Linked DNA regions of Homo sapiens: regions 2 and 3 are each linked to region 1. Evidence: promoter capture Hi-C in human tissues and cell types (Jung and others, 2019). All regions are on one chromosome and are shown on one strand. The core of a region is centred on a gene start or on the middle of the fragment in contact, and the rest is flanking DNA. Distances in the headings are between cores, read along the strand shown.

Region 1 (3,307 bases), core at 259-2,758:
CTGGGTTCTCCAGGCCCTGGGCCAGTATTCTGGACTGGGACTCAGTGGACTTTGAAGAGGTAGAATTCCCTAAGTCGGCCTCTCTCCTTGATAATTTACCCAGAATGGCCCAGATGACAATCTGGGTACAAAATATTTCAGTCCATTTCATCATGTTTACCAAGTACCAGGAGTCAATAGAATTTATGAGTGATAACTAAAGGGTAAGGCACTTTACATCTTAATCCTCTCAGCCACCTTGTAAAGCAGGTATTATCTCCATTTTTAAGTCGTGGAAACTGAGGTCCAGGGAGGCACAAGATCACATGACTAAGGGAGTGGGGAAAGCCAGGATTGGAGATTGGGTTAATAGGGCTCCAAAATGCCTGATCTTTCCACTCCCCTGAGTGCTCAGGGGTGATGAAGATGACTAAGACCCTGTTCCTTCCCTTGGGAGGGAGCGAAATACCCACTCCAGCTAACTATTGCATGGGTCAGGGTGACATCACCACCTCTGCAGCAGATGGAGGCTGATTCATCTGTGGGAGAGTCAGGAGGGGCCTCTGCGGAAGGGTCGGCTGGCTGGAAGGGTTGGCTGGCTGGAAGGGTCGGTTGGCTGGCGGGGGTTTTGAAGACGGCAAAGATAGAGAATGAGCCTTGGGGAGGTTCCAGGGCCAGATACAAACTGCCTGTATGCCTCCCAGGCAGGGGCCTCCTTGGCCTAGGTCCTTCCCATAGGAACTCAAACCACCACCACACTAACCATGGCTGAGGGGACCCGGCAGGCCGCAGTGGGGAGGGACGAGATCCCTGAGCTTACACAGGGGCTGAGGGGAGCTCAGTGAATCACCTAGGGGACACCTGGACCAAAGGTGGCGGAGGGGCGCATGGGTCTCCCTGCCAAGCTATGGGGGAGGGGATGGTGGACATGACAACTTCCAGCTCAGCGGTGCTTTAGGGTGGGGAGCCGGGATGAGGGAAGCTGGTGGCTATCCGGGGGGGGGTGCTCTGAGGTCTGCAGGGGAACTGCCTCCCCAAAGTTTCAAGCTAGGGGTGGAAGGGGGGATTTGCGGTCATTAGGAGCGGGAAGGAGGCCGGATGGGAGCACGAGGTGTCCCGCCTCCAAAGGGTGGAGGGCTCCCGGTGGGTGGCGCGGCGGCGGCCGCGGCGGTGAAGTCATCGTGGGGAGTGGTCCGCTTGCGGCGGGTGCGGGGGCTTCGCGGGCACCCAGTGGAGCAGCGGGAGCCCGGCGCCGTCGAGGGGCGGGCGATGGGGCGCCGGCCCGTCTTGGTAGGGGTGGGCTCCGCACTGGAGGCGGAGCTGCTGCTGGGTGGGGCGCGCCTCCGGCGCGGACGGAGGCGGCGGGACGCCCGCTCCCACGACCGGCCCACAATGAGGCGAGCGGGCAGCGCGGAGTAGGCGGCGGCCGGCCGGGCCGGGCCACGCGGCGGCGCTGCTCGGGCAGGTTAGGGCAGGGCCGCGGGGCGCCCGAGCGAGGACACCGCGGCCCCGCCTCCGCCCCTCCCCTCGCCTGCCGGTCGGCGCCCGAGCTCGGAGCCGCAGCCGCAGCCGGAAACCGGGCCCGCGCGGCGGCCGCCGTCCCGGCCAAGCCGGGGCCCCGAAGCCAGAGCCGGAGCCGGGCGGGCCGCGGGGTCATGGCTGGGCCGCGGGGCGCGCTGCTGGCCTGGTGCCGCCGCCAGTGCGAGGGCTACCGCGGCGTGGAGATCCGCGACCTGAGCAGCTCCTTCCGGGACGGCCTGGCCTTCTGCGCCATCCTGCACCGGCACCGGCCCGACCTGCTGTGAGTGCGGGGCCCCGGGCGAGCGGGCGGCGCGGGGCGGGCTGGGGCCGCGACCGCCGCCCCCCCTCAGTAACACGAAGCCCGGGCGGTGACAGGCGCCGCCCCCGGACACGGAGACGCCGACCCCCCCGACGGCCCCGGACGCCGGGCGGGTCCCTGAGACCCCGGCCCAGGGCGCCCCTCCCCCGCCCGGCCGCCCTGACCCCGCCCGTGGGATCCCGAACTCTCCCCCGAGGCTGGTCCCTCCGCGGGGACACTGGCCCCGCCCACAAAGCGCTGATTTCCGCCGAGGATCGCTGAACCCCTAAGCCCTTGACCTCTTTGAAGGGGTGTTGAGCCCTCTTTGGGGGCCCTGGGCCTCTCCTACCCTAAACTCTTCTCCACGGGCTCGCCGGGCCTCCCCTCTCCCCCGAGGCTTCCCACTCGGGGTGGCCCCTTGCTCCGGGTGTGCAGGTGAACCCCCACTTCTCTGACCCCCAAATAGGAGCTTGTCTCCGGACAGTAGCACAGTTCCCGGCACAGAGGAGACCTCGGCTAACAGGTGTTGGATGAATGGATGTACAGACCCTGTGCTTTCCCCACGCCCCCCAACTTAGGACGCAGCCCTGCCTCCCGGGTGTGTGCTCGATGGCCCTGCAGCCCTCCTCAGTGGGGCACGCAGGTGGGGCGCGCAAGAGGAGTCACAGGCCGGCAATGTTGGGAAGACTCCTAGGATCCGATTGATAGACACCAACCGGGTGCTGCAGGTTGTGAAATGGCCCCTTCCTGCCCAGAGCTGCCCAATGAGGTTCTCATGGGAAAATGCATTCAGACTCCCCGGAACAGTTGACTTGGAGCCTCTGTCTTTGCTCTCTCTGCCTTGAGCCCTGGAACCTCTCCTCCTTTCGTCCCTTCATTCCTAAAACACTGGGTGAGTTTATCTGGTGCCATTCCTTGCACTTCAGGTCTCACCTGTGAATCAGGGAGGAGAGTTCTGGTCCCTACCCCTTTCGCATGCAGCCCTCTTGCCAGGGCTCCCCCAGCCTGGCAGATGGAGGCTTTCTGTGCCTGTTCCACCTCCAGATTTGCACTGTCCGAGGGCAGCATGTGGGAAGGCTTCTAAGGGATTGCCTCAGGATTCCATGATGCAGGTGCACCTGGTTTACCTGTATGTACCCTGCAGTACCGTGTCTGTGGGTGGTGGCTTGGGCCCTGGAGGAGAGGGTTTTGGGGCTGTGGATACAGAAGGGAACAAGATGAGGTGGTCATGTAGGTGGGCCCCTGCCCGCTGTGGGGCATGTGACACCCATACTAATGGAAGCACAAGGTTGATGCCTGGTTGCCCAGGAGCAGGGGGTAGAAGGATGGAGGAAAAGGGCACCAGGGTTAGACCTGGGCATTGGAAGGGAGGGCCCAAGGGGTCTTCTGTTTTGTTTGAGGGGCAGGAGTGAGGCAGGAAGCAGGGACAAACCCAGTGTGGGAGGGGACTTGGGTGTGAAGTGAAGCCATTTGGTGGGCCTGAGCCTGGTGGCATCAAAGTAAATAAAG
Region 2 (3,307 bases), core at 456-2,955, 470 kb before region 1:
AGTAGCTGGGACTACAGGCATGCGCCACCATGCCCAGCTAATTTTTGTATTTTTAATAGAGACGGGATTTCACTATGTTGGCCAGGCTGGTCTCGAACTGTGACCTCAGGTGATCCGCCGGCCTCGGCCTCCCAAAGTGCTGTGATTACAGGCGTAAGCCACCACGCCTGGCCTGTCTGATGTCTTCTTATCATTAATATGGGTCACAGTGGGGGAGAACAGCCCAGAGTTATAGTACATTGTCACTGCTACATGTCAGGGGGTACAGGATGGATCATTGGTGATACTAACCCTGGTCACTTGGTTAGGGTGGCGCTTCCTTCGCTTAACAGATAGGCCTTAAACTGAGGCCTGGAGAGGTGAAGCTGCTTGCACTGGAGTGATGGTAGGGCAGGAGGTGAACCAGGCCCATCTGACTCCCATTATCCCACATTCATTGGAGTTTTAGGCAGGGAAACTGAGACAGAAGCCCAGCTCTAAGAGTGGGAAGGTGAAAAAAGCTGTACCATGGAGTCTATTCGGTATGCAGCAAGAAAACTGAGCCCAAGACTTCTTTTTTCGGGGGTAAGGCCCCATCAGAATGGGCCTGGGGGCCTGGAAGCCATGGTAGATGCCAGCCAAGAGGAGTGGGGAAAGGAAACGGGGGCAGGCACGAGGACCATGGGAAGGAAGAATGAAGGAAGGAGGGAGTGGTGAGCACAACTGCTGGAGCAATCCAGGAAGTCTCCTTGGAAGAGAAAGCCACAATTTTAAGAACAGTCAAGAGAGCAGCTCAGGTGTGAGGTCCTTCCCAGGAGACAGAGAGTAAAGTATTTAAGACCACAGGCCAGGCTGGGCGCAGTGGCTCACACCTGTAATCCCAACAATTTGGGAGGCCAAGGCAGGTGGATCACTTGAGGTCAGGAGTTCAAGAGCAGGCTGGCCAACATGGTTAAATCCCAGCTCTACTAAAAATACAAAAATTATCAGGCTGTGGTGGTGGGCATCTGTAAACCCAGCTACTCAGGAGGACGAGGCTGGAGACTTGCTTGAACCCAGGAGGCGGAGGTTGCAGTGAGCAGAGATTGCGCCATTGCACTCCAGCCTGGGCGACAAAAGCAAAACTCCGACTCAAAAAATAAGACCACAGACCCTGGAGTCCGAGAGGCCTGGGTTTAAACCCTTGTGCTACCACTTCCTGACTGGTGATCTTGGGCAAGTCACTGCTTCCCAAACTAATGGGGTTTTCTAGCCCCCAGGTCTTGCCTGTCCTGCTCACCTGTCTGAAACGGTCATTCCTGAACCAGCCCCCGACCTCCCCAGCCTGAACCAGCTACCGATTTTGTGAAGCTCAGTGAAAAATGAAAATCTGGACTCTGGACTCCTTGTTCAAAAATTATTATGAATTTCAAGACAGCAATAGCAGAGCATTAAACCAAGCACGGGATCCTTCCAGGTGGGGAGCCCTGAGCGAGTGCGCAGGTTACATACCCTTGAGGCTGGCCCCGTCCCCGGCCTCAGTGACCACCTGAGCCCTGTGATCTGATGTCCATATTTTCTCTGCAGTTCCTTAACTGTTAATCACAAGCTGTCTGCCGCAGCTGCTCAGACCGTCATATCGAACGGTTGCTTCACTCACACATGTGTTTTCTTGTCTTGCCCTGGGTGGAAGGTTAGATGCAATGGACTCCAAGGTGCATCCAACAGTTAAATTTGATGTCCTTTAATTTAATGGCTCTAATATTTTTCACCGGGAAGCTTCTGAGCTTAAAATGCTGAGTCAAGGGGTCAGAGCTTCCCCTGTGCGGTCTCAAAACCCTGATGATCCCCAGGCAGTTTGGAGGTTTCAGATGAAAGAAGGTTGTTAGAATTTCATTCACTGACATTTTGCAAATTTGAAATGTGAAATTAATTGCGATTTTTGCAGGAATTGCTCAGTTCTTCAAGGTGCTGTGTGTACTATACAGTCCATCCATCCAAAATGGGTCCAAAGGAAACCGGGTGCCATGGCTTATGCCTGTAATCCCAGCACTTTGGGAGGTCAAGATGGGAGGATCATCCAGCTCAGGAATTTGAGACCAGCCTGGGCAACACAATAAGACCCCATCTCTACCAAAAAAAAAAAAAAAAATCAATCAGGCACAGTGGTGTCATCTGTAGTCCCAGCTACTTGGGAGGCTGAGGTGGGAAGATCACTTGAGCCCAGGAGGTGTGGCTACAGTGAGCTATGATTGTACCACTGCACTCCAGCCTGGGTAACAGAGCAAGAACCTGTCTCCAAAAACAAAAACAAAAACAAAAACAAGGGGTTCCTCAACAGCCCTGAGCCTGGCTGGCACATTTTTACATGTTTTGCATAACTACTTGTTAACTTTGCATTTTCTCCCCTTATTATCGTCAAGAGGCGGAATATTGGAATCAACTGTACTCATCTCTTATCTCTTCCATGAGAACATATGCAAGTTGCTTAATCTCTCTGGGTCTCAATTTCTTTATCTGAGAAATGGAGATTAAATGAGTTCTATGTCTTCTGGTGATCATTGCTAATTAGAAATTCTAGTGGTGCGAAAAAAAAAAAGGCACACCTGCTTTATTTTGCTCAAAATTTTGTGGGTCAAGAATGGAAGGGCTTAGCTGGGTTGTTTTTGCTTGGGGTTTTCATGCAGTTAGCCTCAGATGTCTGCTGGAGCTGCCATTATCTGATAGCTCAGCTGGGATGGGTACAATCAAGATGGTTCACCCGCACAGCTGGCACCTGATGCCTGCCATCGGTTGGCAGCTCTGTTGGAGCTGGTGACTGAAGTGGCTATCTGCAGCAGAGCAGAACCAGAGGAGCCGGGCTTATTACATGGCAGCTGACTTCCCCCAGAACAAGCATCCCGGGAGAAACAGGAGGAAAACACTTGCCCTTGGAAATGACAAAACATCACTTCTGCTGTTTTCTATTGATATAATAGAGTCACTAAGTCCAGCCCACAATTAAAAGGAAGGGACATAGACCCCACCCTTCAACAGGAAGAGTGTCCAAAATTGGGGTCATGTTTTAAAACCACCACAGTATTTATAAAAAGCACTTACAGCTGGGCGTGGTGGCTCATGCCTGTAACCCCAGCACTTTGGGAGGCCGAAACAGGCAGATCACCTGAGGTCAGGAGTTCAAGACCAGCCTGGCCAACATGGTAAAACCCCATCTCTACTAAAAATACAAAAAAATTAGCCGGGTGTGGTGGTGTGCACCTGTAATCTTAGCTACTTGGGAGGCTGAGGCAGGAGAATCACTTGAACCTGGGAGGTGGAGGTTACAGTGGCCCAAGATCGTGCCACTGCA
Region 3 (3,307 bases), core at 239-2,738, 400 kb after region 1:
AAAAGTACAAAAATTAGCTGGGCGTAGTGGCGCACGCCTGTAATCCCAGCTACTCGGCAGGCTGAGGCAGGAGAATTGCTTGAACCCAGGAGGCAGAGGTTGCAGTGAGCCGAGATTGTGCCACTGCACTCCAGCCTGGCGACAGAGCAAGACTCCATCTCAAAAAAAAAAAAAAAAAAATTAAAAATTAGAACACAGCATCTTCTTATCAGCTGATACCTTCGTATCAGCATCTGCTGTGGGTTCCGCATCTGCCGATTCAACCATGGATCAAAAATACGTGGGGGGAGAAAATAAAAAATAACAACACAACAATAAGAAATAGGTTGGGTGCAGTGATGCACAACTGTAGTACTACCACTTTGGGAGGCTGAGGAGGATTACTTGAGTCCAGCGGTTCGAGACCAGCCTAAGCAACATAGTGAGACCCTATCTCTACAAAAAATACAAATATTAGCCAGGCGTGGTAGCACGTGCCTGTGGTCCCAGCTACCTGGGAGGCTGAGGCAGGAGGACTGCTTGAACCTAGTAAGTCAAGGTTGCGGTGAGCTATGATCACACCACCACACTCCAGCCTGGGTGACAGAGCAAGACCATGTCTCAAAAATAAATAGGTAAATAATATAAAAATTAAAAATACAGTACAATAACTATTTACATAGCATTTACATTGTATTAGGTATTATAAGTGATCTAGAGATGATTTAAAGTATATGGAGAAGGCCAGGTGCCAGCATTTTGGGAGGCTGAGGCAGGCGGATCACCAGGCAAGGAGTTCCAGACCAGCCTGACCACCATGATGAAACCCCATCTCTACTAAAAATACAAAAATTAGCCAAGGTGCTCCCGTGGGAGCGCCTGTAATCCCAGCTCTCAGGAGGCTGAGGTAGGAGAATCTCTTGAACCTGGGAGGCGGAGGTTGCAGTGAGCCGAGATCACACAACTGCACTCCAGCCTGGCGACACAGCGAGACTCCGTCTCAAAACAAAAAAAAGTATACAGAGGATGCGCGTAGCTTATATACAAATACTACAGCTTTTTATATCAGGAACTTGAGAATCAGAGGATTCTGGTATCTGAGGGGGATCCTGGAACCTATTCCCCACAGGTACCGAAGGTGGAGGGCTGTATTTTCTTTTTCTTTTTGAGACAGGGTCTCAATCTGCCACCCAGGCTGGACTGTAGTGGCACTAACACAGCTCACTGCAGCCTCAACCTCTGGGGCGCAAGTGAGCCTCCCACTTCAGCCTCTCGAGTAGCTGGACTACAGGCGCAAGCCACCACACCTGGCTAATTTTTGTATTTTTTGTAGACAGGGTTTGCCATCTCTAGGCTGGTCTCCAACTCCTGGGCTCAAGTGATTCACCTGCCTCAGCCTCCCAATGTGCAGGAATTACAGGCATGAGCCACTGTGCCTGGCCCAGGAGGGCTGTATTTTCATCACCCTGAAAACACCTGTAGCCTTTAGTGGGGTAAGGTCCTATCTCCTCGCTCCATCCCCTGCCCCCCAACTAATCTACATTCTGTCTCTATGGATTTGTCTTTTCTGGACATTTCACAGAAATAGAATCAAACAGAATCATACAACGTGATTTTTTGTGACTGGCTTCTTTCACTTAACACATTTTTGTGTTTTGATTTTTGAGTATTTGGATTTTTAATAAAAGAAAAAGAAAAACAGAATGAATAACTCAATCTAGCCAGCAACAGGAATGAAAGTACTTTGCAAACTGTAAAGAGCTTTTGACACATCAATGCTCGTCACTGGGATGAGCCACACAGGTTTCCAGGGGACAGTGAGGATCCTTAGAGTCCCCTGGCCATGCTCCATTTCCCCATGAGCAGAGAGGCAGGAGAGTGCAGCGGTTGAAGTGTGAGTTTCAGAGCCAACCTACTAGAGCCCAAATCCTGACTCGGACATCCCCTGGCCAGGGGTCGTCGGACAAGGCACTTCACCCCTCTGAGCCCCAGGTACCTCATGTGTAAACCGATGACACTATCTGGCTCATTGGGATGTTCTGACAGACAAACATGCTTACAAGAGTGCCTGGCACACAGTCAATGCTCCATGATGTTCGGCTTGGTGGGAAGTGCAGCCCCTAGGCTAGAGATGAGCCGGTGTCCACCCAGTGGGAGGAGGGGAAGAGGGAATAAGCCATGCTATGAGGAAAGGAGAGCCTCCGGGAGGGCAGGCTGCAAGGGCTCCTGGCTCCCAAACAGGACTGTACTGGACAGACAAGAGAGGTCACGGCACAAGCAGAGGCCCAACAGCAGCAGGTGCAGCGGGAACCATGGGGTGGCAGAAAAAGACAGTGGAAGAGGTGGGCAGGGAAGAGATCTGAAGGGTCTTGAATGGCCGGCTAAGATCCTGGCCTTCAGCCTGAGGCACCAAGGGCCATGTTCAGGTGTGTGATCACAGGATCTCTCAACCGTGGCACTACTGACACTGGAGCTGGAGAATTCCTGGTTGTGGGGCTGCCCTGGGCACTGCACAGTCTAACAGCACCCATGACTTCTACCCACTAGATGCCAGGGCACCCCTTTCCCCCTGAATTGTAACAACCAAAAGGTCTCCAGATCTTGACATATGTCTCCTGGGGGACAAAAATCACCCTGTTGAGGCTACCTGGTGGATACGAAAGGGCTGGAGGAGGCTAGAGGGGTAGTGGAAGGCCTGGGAAGGCCACTACAGAGACCAGGCAAGAGCTGACGGTGGCCCTGCCTGGGCAGGGTGCAGAAACTGATTGACACTTTGGAGGCAGGGCCTGCAGCACTTGGTGATTCGGCAGATGTGTGCAGGGAGGAGAGGTGCTGGGGAGGTAGTGGTAGACAGGGCCCTCTTCCCCTCGAGCCCTTACTCCACTCTTCGAGTACTACTGTTTGTATTTCTTTTTTCTTTTTTTTTTGAGACAGCTTCACTTTGTCGCCTGGGCTGGAGTGCAGTGGCATGATCTCGGCTCACTGCAACTTCTGCCTCCCGGGTTCAAGCGATTCTCATGCCTCAGCCTCCCGAGTAACTGGGATTACAAGCAGACACCACCACGCCTGGCTAATTTTTGTATTATTAGTAGAGATGGGGTTTCACCATGTTGGCCGGGCTGGTCTCAAACTCCTGACCTCAAATGATCTGCCCGCCTTGGTCTCCCAAGTGCTGGGATTACAGGCGTGAGCCACTGTGCCTGGCCTACTGTTTGCATTTCTGTTTGACATGTGGAAAAACAGACACCAAAGGTCAAATGATCATATGCTACAAACTTCCCAGGGACAGGGACCCAAGCTGCTAGGCAAAGCCTCTGACCCCCGCAAG

Evidence for each region. Contacts are between HindIII fragments. The study calls those that stand out against the background at their distance.
Region 2: a fragment that was not itself captured here is called in contact with the fragment with the promoter of MICALL1 in region 1 in 1 of the 25 tissues and cell types used here (spleen).
Region 3: a contact is called between a fragment that was not itself captured here and the fragment with the promoter of MICALL1 in region 1, in 1 of the 25 tissues and cell types used here (liver).

Annotation. Positions count from the first base shown.
Region 1 is chr22:37,904,789-37,908,095 of GRCh38, forward strand. MICALL1 (MICAL like 1) reads left to right here and starts at 1,509. Exons shown (of 16, transcript NM_033386.4): 1 at 1,509-1,780. The coding sequence starts at 1,635. RefSeq lists enhancers at 200-1,015, 1,016-1,831, 1,832-2,647, 2,648-3,307 and silencers at 1,122-1,841, 1,952-2,061. The HindIII fragment of the contact is 31,369 bases long and covers 1-3,307 here.
Region 2 is chr22:37,436,820-37,440,126 of GRCh38, forward strand. No RefSeq gene overlaps it. Among named protein-coding and RNA genes, the nearest start is that of ELFN2, 11 kb to the left of the region's middle. The HindIII fragment of the contact is 6,756 bases long and covers 1-3,307 here.
Region 3 is chr22:38,306,569-38,309,875 of GRCh38, forward strand. All of the region lies in intron 6 of TPTEP2-CSNK1E (TPTEP2-CSNK1E readthrough), which reads right to left. The region is part of intron 2 of CSNK1E (casein kinase 1 epsilon); the gene reads right to left. Among named protein-coding and RNA genes, the nearest start is that of CSNK1E, 9.2 kb to the right of the region's middle. The HindIII fragment of the contact is 4,739 bases long and covers 1-3,307 here.